Linked DNA regions of Homo sapiens: all the other regions are linked to region 3. The links are contacts of gene promoters, found by promoter capture Hi-C in human tissues and cell types (Jung and others, 2019). All regions are on one chromosome and are shown on one strand. Each heading gives the region's core, a stretch centred on a gene start or on the middle of the fragment in contact. The rest is flanking DNA. Distances are from core to core; before and after follow the strand shown.

Region 1 (3,086 bases), core at 552-3,051, 1.0 Mb before region 3:
TAGACATCTACAGAACTCTCCACCCCAAATCAACAGAATATACATTCTTCTCAGCACTACACCACACCTATTCCAAAATTGACCACATAATTGGAAGTAAAGCACTCCTCAGGAAATGTAAAAGAAAAGAAATTATAACAAACGGTGCCTCAGACCACAGTGCAATCAAACTAGAACTCAGGATTAAGAAACTCACTCAAAACCACTCAACTACATGGAAACTGAACAACCTGCTCCTGAATGACTACTGGGTACATAACGAAATGAAGGCAGAAATAAAGATATTCTTTGAAACCAATGAGAACAAAGACACAACATACCAGAATCTCTGGGACACATTTAAAGCAGTGTGTAGAAGGAAATTTATAGCACTAAATACCCACAAGAGAAAGCAGGAAAGATCTAAAATTGACACCCTAACATCACAATTAAAAGAACTAGAGAAGCAAGAGCAAACACATTCAAAAGCTAGCAGAAGGCAAGAAATAACTAAGATCAGAGCAGAACTGAAGGAGATAGAGATACAAAAAACCCTTCAAAAATAAATGAATCCAGGAGCTGGTTTTTTTTGAAAAGATAAACAAAATTGATAGACCACTAGCAAGACTAATAAAGAAGAAAAGAGAGAAGAATCAAATAGATGCAATAAAAAATGATAAAGGGGATATCACCACCGATCCCACAGAAATACAAACTACCATCAGAGAATACTATAAACACCTCTATGCAAACAAACTAGAAAATCTAGAAGAAATGGATAAATTCCTGGACACATACACCCTCCCAAGACTAAACCAGGAAGAAGTTGAATCCCTCAATAGACCAATAACTGGTTCTGAAATTGAGGCAATAATTAATAGCCTCCCAACCAAAAAAAGTCCAAGACCAGATGGATTCACAGCCGAATTCGACCAGAGGTACAAAGAGGAGCTGGTACCATTCCTTCTGAAACAATTCCAATCAAAAGAAAAAGAGGGAATCCTCCCTAATTCATTTTATGAGGCCAACATCATCCTGATAACAAAGGCTGGCAGAGACACAACAAAAAAAGAGAATTTTAGACCAATATCCCTGATGAACATCAATGCAAAAATCCTCAATAAAATACTGGCAAACTGAATCCAGCAGCACATCAAAAAGCTTATCCACCACAATCAAGGGAGCTTCATCCCTGGGATGCAAGGCTGGTTCAACATATGCAGATCAATAAACGTAATCCATCATATAAACAGAACCAAAGACAAAAACCACATGACTATCTCAATAGATGCAGAAAAGGCCTTTGACAAAATTCAACAGCCCTTCATGCTAAAAACTCTCAATAAACTAGGTATTGATGGGACATATCTCAAAATAATAAGAGCTACTTATGACAAACCCACAGCCAATATCATACTGAATGGACAAAAACTGGAAGCATTCCCTTTGAACACTGGCACAGGACAGGGATGCCCTCTCTCACCACTCCTATTCAACATAGTGTTGGAAGTTCTGGCCAGGGCAATCAGGCAGGAGAAAGAAATAAAGGGTATTCAATTAGGAAAAGAGGAAGTCAAATTGTCCCTGTTTGCAGATGACATGATTGTATATTTAGAAAACCCCACTGTCTCAGCCCAAAAGCTCCTTAAGCTAATAAGCAACTTCAGCAAAGTCTCAGGATACAAAATCAATGTGCAAAAATCACAAGCATTCCTATACACCAATAACAGACAAACATAGAGCCAAATCAGGAGTGAACTCCCATTCACGATTGCTTCAAAGAGAATAAAATACCTAGGAATCCAACTAATAAGGGATGTGAAGGACCTCTTCAAGAAGAACCACAAACCACTGCTCAACAAAATAAAAGAGGACACAAACAAATGGAAGTTCCAACATTCCATGCTCATGGATAGGAAGAATCAGTATCGTGAAAATGGCCATACTGCCAAGGTAATTTATAGATTCAATGCCATCCCCATCAAGCTACCAATAACTTTCTTCACAGAATTGGAAAAAACTACTTTAAAGTTCATATGGAACCAAAAAAGAGCCTGCATTGCCAAGACAATCCTAAGCAAAAAGAACAAAGCTGGAGGCATCATACTATCTGGCTTCAAACTATACTACAAGGCTACAGTAACCAAAACAGCATGGTACTGGTACCAAAACAGATATATAGACCAATGGAACAGAATAGAACCCTCAAAAATAATACCACACATCTACAACCATCTGATCTTTGACAAACCTGACAAAAACAAGCAATGGGGAAAGATTCTCTATTTAATAAATGGTGCTGGGAAAACTGGCTAGCCATATGTAGAAAGCTGAAACTGGATCCCTTCCTTACACCTCATACAAAAATTAATTTAAGATGGATTAAAGACTTAAATGTTAGCCTAAAACCATAAAAACCCCAGAAGAAAACCTAGGCAATACCATTCAGGACATAGGCATGGGCAAGGACTTCATGACTAAAACACCAAAAGCAATGGCAACAAAAGCCAAAATTGACAAATGGGATCTAAACTAAAGAGCTTCTGCACAGCAAAAGAAACTACCATGAGAGTGAAAAGGCAACCTACAGAATGGGAGAATATTTTTACAATCTACCCATCTGACAAAAGGCTAGTATCCAGAATCTACAAAGAACTTAAACAAATTTACAATAAAAAAATCAAACAACCCCATCAAAAAGTGGGCAAAGGATATGAACAGACACTTCTCAAAAGAAGACATTTATGCAGCCAACAGACACATGAAAAAATGCTCATCATCACTGGCCATCAGAGAAATGCAAATCAAAACCACAATGAGATACCATTTCACACCAGTTAGAATGGCAATCATTAAAAAGTCAGGAAACAACAGGTGCTGGAGAGGATGTAGAGAAATAGGAACACTTTTACACTGTTGGTGGGACTGTAAACTAGTTCAACCATTGTGGAAGACAGTGTGGAGATTCCTCAAGGATCTAGAACTAGAAATACCATTTGACCCAGCCATCCCATTACTGGACATATACCCAAAGGATTATAAATCATGCTACTATAAAGACACATGCACATGTATGTTTACTGCGGCACTATTCACAATAGCAAAGA
Region 2 (3,023 bases), core at 223-2,722, 1.2 Mb before region 3:
GGAAGAGAAGCAGAGGCAAAAGGGGGCTTTCTTGATTGCTGACACTCAGGTGGAGGTTAAGGGTGCAGGTTCTCCTTCCTCAAGTTGGGAATTACTGCCATGTGGCCATGTGGGCTCCAGTTACTGATGGGACTGTAACGGCTCTCTCCACTATAGCCTCAGGTTCTCTTCTCCTCTTCCCAATAAGTGAATGTTGACAAAATGATTTTTTTTTTTTTGAGAAGGAGTTTCGCTCTTGTCGCCCAGGCTGGAGTGCAGTGGCGGGATCTTGGCTCACTGCAACCTCCGCCTCCTGGGTTCAAGCTATTCTCCCGCCTCAGCCTCCCGAGTAGCTGGGATTACAGGCGCCCGCCACCACGCCCCGCTAATTTTTTGCATTTTTAGTAGAGACAGGGTTTCGCCATATTGGGCAGGCGGGTCTCGAACTCCTGACCTCAGGTGATCCTGCCCACCTCTGCCTCCCAAAGTGCTGGGCCACCAGGCGTGAGCCACCACCTCTGGCCGACAAAGTGATGTTTTAAATTACAAAAGTGCATCTTTCTTTGAAGGCTTTGTATTTTACTCATAAAATCAAGAGGATAGCAATTCCTTTCTCGTCCCCACTTTCCTTTTCTTCTAGGCCTTCACACCTCTAAGATACCAGATGCGGTTATTTTTGGAGCTAACTCTTGATGGGAATTTAGATCTGCAGAAGGTGTTCCAAAAAAAATCCTAATTTTCAGGTGTTCTCAAATTTCCCATTTTTACATACCCCCTTGGCTTCTGAGACACATATATGCCTGATTTTTCATTTATATTATTTTCTGGAGGTAATGAAAGGGTTCTGCCTGTCAAAAGGCACTTTGCTATCTAATATGGATCTGTGTCCCCACCCAAATCTCATGTTGAATTGTAATCCCCAATGTTGGAGGTGGGGTCTGGTGGGAAGTAATGGGATCATGGGGGTAGATCCTTCATGAATGGCTTAGCACTGTCCCTTTGGTTCTCTTCTTGTGAGTTCTCACAAGATCTGGTTGTTTAAAAGTGTATGGTGTCGGCTAGGCGCGGTGGCTCATACCTATAATCCCAGCACTTTGGGAGGCCGAGGCAAGTGGATCACCTGAGGTTAGGAGTTTGAGACTAGCCTGGCCAAAATGGCAAAACCCTGTCTCTACTAAAAATGCAAAAATTAGCCAGGCATGATGGTGTGTGTCTGCAATCCCAGCTACTCGGGAGGCTGAGGCAGGAGAATCACTTGAACCCAGGAGGTGGAGATTGCAGTGAGCTGAGATTGTGCCACTGCACTCCAGCCTGGGCAACAGTGAGGCTGTCTTAAAAAAAAAAAGTGTATGGCACCTCCCCCCACTTCTCTTTTCCTCCTACTCCAGCCTTGTGAGGTGCTCGCTCCCCCTTCGCCTTCCACCATGAATGTAAGTTTTCTGAGTCCTCCCCTGAAGCCCAGCAGATGCCAGCATCATGCTTTCTGTACAGCCATGAGCCAATTAAACCTCTTCTTTATAAATTATCCAGTGCCAGGCATTTATTTATAGCAGTGTGAGAACAGACTAATAGAGTGTTCCTTCTGGAAACAGCAGGCTCATGGGTTAGAAAGCAGCACAGTCAAAGCCTCTGGAAGCTTCTCCGCTTCCTCAGGTAAGAGGAACTTCATCCTAGGTTCTTCAGAGGCAAAGAATGCCTCAAAAGCTGGTTCCAGCCAAGTGCAGTGGCACATTTCTGTAGTCCCAGCTTCTCAGAAGGCTGAGGCAGGAGGCTCACTTGAGCCCAGGAAGTCAAGTTCAGCTTGGGCAATATAGCAAGACACTATCTCTTAAAAAAATAAATAAAAATTTTAAAAAGCTAGTTAACTTCTCTCCAGCAGCCTGAGGTCAGATCAGCATTCCGACCCCTCCCAGCTTCATGTCTTGCATTTTACTCATTTGGCCTCTTAGCTGGGACTCTCCGGGTGACACATAGAGCATATTTGGCCTCAGGAGTTGAAACAGGTTCACATGAAAGCCCCAGAGACTACCAAAGAGAGGAGAAAGAAACCAGTCAGGTTGGCCAGATATATTTAAACGCACACACACACACACACACACACACACACACACACTCCTATTGTTAATCCCCCCACCCCCATCCCCTGGCCCCCAATTAAAAGACTTAAGGCACAACCACCAAAACATAGACACTTACCTTTCTCATGTCACTAAAGTAGGAGCCACAAAGGCCAGAGCTAGCTCCCCTGGTGATGGAAGCCTCTTCCATTCCCTCCTCCCAGGATGGCATTGTCCTTCTGTAACATCTGTTTCCCCACCCTTCTAGAAATTCCCTGACTACTTGGATGATGTCATGCCCGCACAACAACCTCTGAGATTCATGGTACCCCAAAATTCACCTGTAGAAAGATTTGGTTCTATTAGGGGAAGTCCCTAGAGTGATTTATGCATACACCTGCCTATTGTTGGCTATACCTTTAAGTGAGTTTAAAAGATCTGGGACTGCCCTTCTGGGATTAGGCAAAATTCACCAGGGACTTGTTGGTTAATCAGAAACCAGAACAAGGTTTTCTTCATCACCATGAAAACACACATGGAAAAACACTCTCTTCATTTTTTTTTTTTTTTTTTTTTTTGAGATGGAGTCTTGCTCTGTCACCCAGGCTGGAGTGCAGTGTCGTGATCTCGGCTCACTGCATCCTCCACCTCCCAGGTTCAAGCCACCCTCTTCATTTTATCTGTTTCACCTCCTGCTTATTCCGTGAGAGTTAGATCAATCCTGCACCCACCAGCCACACTTAATGGCCCCCCCTCACTTCTGAATGCCAAAGCCATGATCACTCTGAACCAGATTCCAAGGTGACAAAGGGTTGTATTGCTTTCTTCAACAGTCATCCCATTCTTGGGATATTTTTACCTTTTCTGCTTGTATACCACTCATCACCCAGATTATAATGTCCTAGGAGATTTTTTAAAAATCGACCCCAGTATCTAATGACGGCCTAGCATAATTGCTACGCCATAAAATTCCCCATTCAGCAACTA
Region 3 (2,929 bases), core at 1-2,500:
TGCAGAGTTTCCTGGCCCATCTGACCCTAACTGAAACCCAGCCTCCTAAGAAGGACCTGGTGTTGGAACAGGTAGGCACTGGAAAGTTAGCTGCTCAGGACCACTGTCCCACTTTACCAGCACCTTCCTGCCACTCTCCACTTCTCTCTCCTAGATCCCAGAAATCTGGGAGCGGCTGGAGCGAGAAAACAGAGGCAAGTGGCAGGCAATTGCCAAGCACCAGCTCCAGCATGTGTTCAGCCCCTCAGAGCAGGACCTGCGGCTGCAGGCGCGAAGGTAAGGCCTGTGGAAATGGCAGGGAGGGTGGAGGGGATGCAGGAGGCATGGATGTGGGTGGGGTGCCCCCACCTTCCAGGGCCAGTCAGACCTTCCTGACTTTCCCCCAGGTGGGCTGAGACCTACAGGCTGGATGTGCTAGAGGCAGTGGCTCCAGAGCGGCCCCGCTGTGCTTACTGCAGTGCAGAGGCTTCTAAGCGCTGCTCACGATGCCAGAATGAGTGGTATTGCTGCAGGTGAGGGTATCCTAGAACCTTGGACCTCTAAGCCCTACTCCCACATCCCCCACATGCATTGCCATCCTCAATACCCACCTGCCTGCAGGGAGTGCCAAGTCAAGCACTGGGAAAAGCATGGAAAGACTTGTGTCCTGGCAGCCCAGGGTGACAGAGCCAAATGAGGGCTGCAGTTGCTGAGGGCCGACCACCCATGCCAAGGGAATCCACCCAGAATGCACCCCTGAACCTCAAGATCACGGTCCAGCCTCTGCCGGAGCCCCAGTCTCCGCAGTGGAGAGCAGAGCGGGCGGTAAAGCTGCTGACCGATCTCCCTCCTCCTCACCCCAAGTGAAGGCTCGAGACTTCCTGCCCCACCCAGTGGGTAGGCCAAGTGTGTTGCTTCAGCAAACCGGACCAGGAGGGCCAGGGCCGGATGTGGGGACCCTCTTCCTCTAGCACAGTAAAGCTGGCCTCCAGAAACACGGGTATCTCCGCGTGGTGCTTTGCGGTCGCCGTCGTTGTGGCCGTCCGGGGTGGGGTGTGAGGAGGGGACGAAGGAGGGAAGGAAGGGCAAGGCGGGGGGGGCTCTGCGAGAGCGCGCCCAGCCCCGCCTTCGGGCCCCACAGTCCCTGCACCCAGGTTTCCATTGCGCGGCTCTCCTCAGCTCCTTCCCGCCGCCCAGTCTGGATCCTGGGGGAGGCGCTGAAGTCGGGGCCCGCCCTGTGGCCCCGCCCGGCCCGCGCTTGCTAGCGCCCAAAGCCAGCGAAGCACGGGCCCAACCGGGCCATGTCGGGGGAGCCTGAGCTCATTGAGCTGCGGGAGCTGGCACCCGCTGGGCGCGCTGGGAAGGGCCGCACCCGGCTGGAGCGTGCCAACGCGCTGCGCATCGCGCGGGGCACCGCGTGCAACCCCACACGGCAGCTGGTCCCTGGCCGTGGCCACCGCTTCCAGCCCGCGGGGCCCGCCACGCACACGTGGTGCGACCTCTGTGGCGACTTCATCTGGGGCGTCGTGCGCAAAGGCCTGCAGTGCGCGCGTGAGTAGTGGCCCCGCGCGCCTACGAGAGCGGAAGGGGCAGCCAAGGGGCAGCGCAGTCGCCGCGGGTCAAGTCGCGGCAGAGGGGGTCGGCGGGGACAGCTCCCGAGGACTAGGTCCGTTACTTTCGCCCCATCGCTGAAGAGTGCGCGAAAATGGTTTATCCCTTGTCGCACTCCACTCGTATCTGGGCCACAGATGAGCAGAGGTGGCTGCTTATATGTAAAAATACGCTGATTTTAAGTTTCTTATCTTTAAAATGCCTTGGCCCTTCTTGAGAAAGGGTTTGTGCCTACTGTCCTCGGAGTCCATCTTCCCAGGCTTGCCTCTTCTCAAACACTCATGACCCCCTCCAGAACCTTTAGGGTGAAGGGAAATTACCACCTATGGGAGGGAGCCTGGAAAAATTTAGAACCTTTGGTGGGCCCCCTGCAAGCAGGAGTTTTGTTGAGTCTTTATTTAGCAAACACCCTTTTCTGACCCAGTGAATCAGATGCTAAAATATGCACGCAGCCACACACCCAGCAGTCCTTCTGCACCCCTGGGAATCGCCAGCAAGCAAAGGTTGCTCTCCCCTGGGTAGACACCAGCTGGAATCACCAGGGGTGCTTTTACAGTCCTCCCCGCTAGCCTGGATCCCACCGCAGACCTGTTGAATCAACTGCTGGGAGTGGACCCTAGGCATCAGTAAATTTTAAAAACTCCCCAAATTATTGTAACATGGAGTCTGGGTTGAGCATCACTGCTCTGGCCTATTTAGGAACTTGTGGATGGATAGTGTCCCAGGTCTGTGTGTGCATGGAGACCCTCTCATCCGGTACAAGAGGACATCACAAATTCAGCTGGGGGGAGCACAAAGTTGTGACAGAATGCAAAGAATGAACAAGGGGCCGAGCGCGGTGGCTCATGCCTGTAATCCCAGCACTTCGGAAGGCGGAGGCGGGTGGATCACCTGAGGTCAGGAGTTCAAGACCAGCCTGGCCAACATGGTGAAACCTCATGTCTACTAAAAAATAAAAAAAAATGAGCCAGGCGTAGTGGCGGGTGCCTGTAATCCCAGCTACTCGGGAGGCTGAGGTGGGAGAATTGCTTGAACACAGGAGGCGGAGGTTGCAGTGAGCCGAGATCGTGCCACTGCCCTCCAGCCTTGGCGACAGAGTGAGACTCTGTCTCAAAAAAAAAAAAAAAAAAAAAAAGAACAAGGCTGGGACATTGCAGCGTTCTCAAAGAGAAATAAAGTAGCCATGGAGATAAGAAGCAGGATGATTTGGGCATGTTTATCAGAGGTAGAGACAAGGGAGAAATCAAAGATAAGTTTGGGCTTTTGTCTCCAGTAACTGGGAGCCTAGTGGCCATTTTTGCTGCAAAGAGGAAGCTGGGCAAGTGTAGCAGTGAGGCTG

Evidence for each region. The method cuts DNA at HindIII sites, captures the fragments that hold promoters and counts their contacts. A contact is called where the count stands out against the background at its distance.
Region 1: a contact is called between a fragment that was not itself captured here and the fragment with the promoter of RASSF1 in region 3, in 1 of the 25 tissues and cell types used here (dorsolateral prefrontal cortex).
Region 2: a fragment that was not itself captured here is called in contact with the fragment with the promoter of RASSF1 in region 3 in 4 of the 25 tissues and cell types used here (bladder, dorsolateral prefrontal cortex, hippocampus and 1 more).

What each region holds. Positions count from the first base shown.
Region 1 is chr3:51,363,913-51,366,998 of GRCh38, reverse strand. The region is part of intron 49 of DOCK3 (dedicator of cytokinesis 3); the gene reads right to left. Among named protein-coding and RNA genes, the nearest start is that of MANF, 20 kb to the left of the region's middle. The HindIII fragment of the contact is 3,213 bases long and covers 195-3,086 here.
Region 2 is chr3:51,535,140-51,538,162 of GRCh38, reverse strand. LOC105377085 (a long non-coding RNA gene) reads right to left here. Exons shown (of 3, transcript XR_940835.3): 2 at 2,176-2,377; 3 at 1,494-2,004. Among named protein-coding and RNA genes, the nearest start is that of RAD54L2, 2.1 kb to the left of the region's middle. The HindIII fragment of the contact is 7,506 bases long and covers 1-3,023 here.
Region 3 is chr3:50,339,157-50,342,085 of GRCh38, reverse strand. RASSF1 (Ras association domain family member 1) reads left to right here and starts at 1,250. Exons shown (of 6, transcript NM_007182.5): 1 at 1,250-1,530. The coding sequence starts at 1,281. ZMYND10 (zinc finger MYND-type containing 10) reads left to right here. Exons shown (of 12, transcript NM_015896.4): 9 at 1-71; 10 at 155-276; 11 at 387-512; 12 at 601-974. The coding sequence ends at 676. RefSeq lists enhancers at 499-1,321, 1,322-2,145 and a silencer at 991-1,510. The HindIII fragment of the contact is 7,648 bases long and covers 1-2,929 here.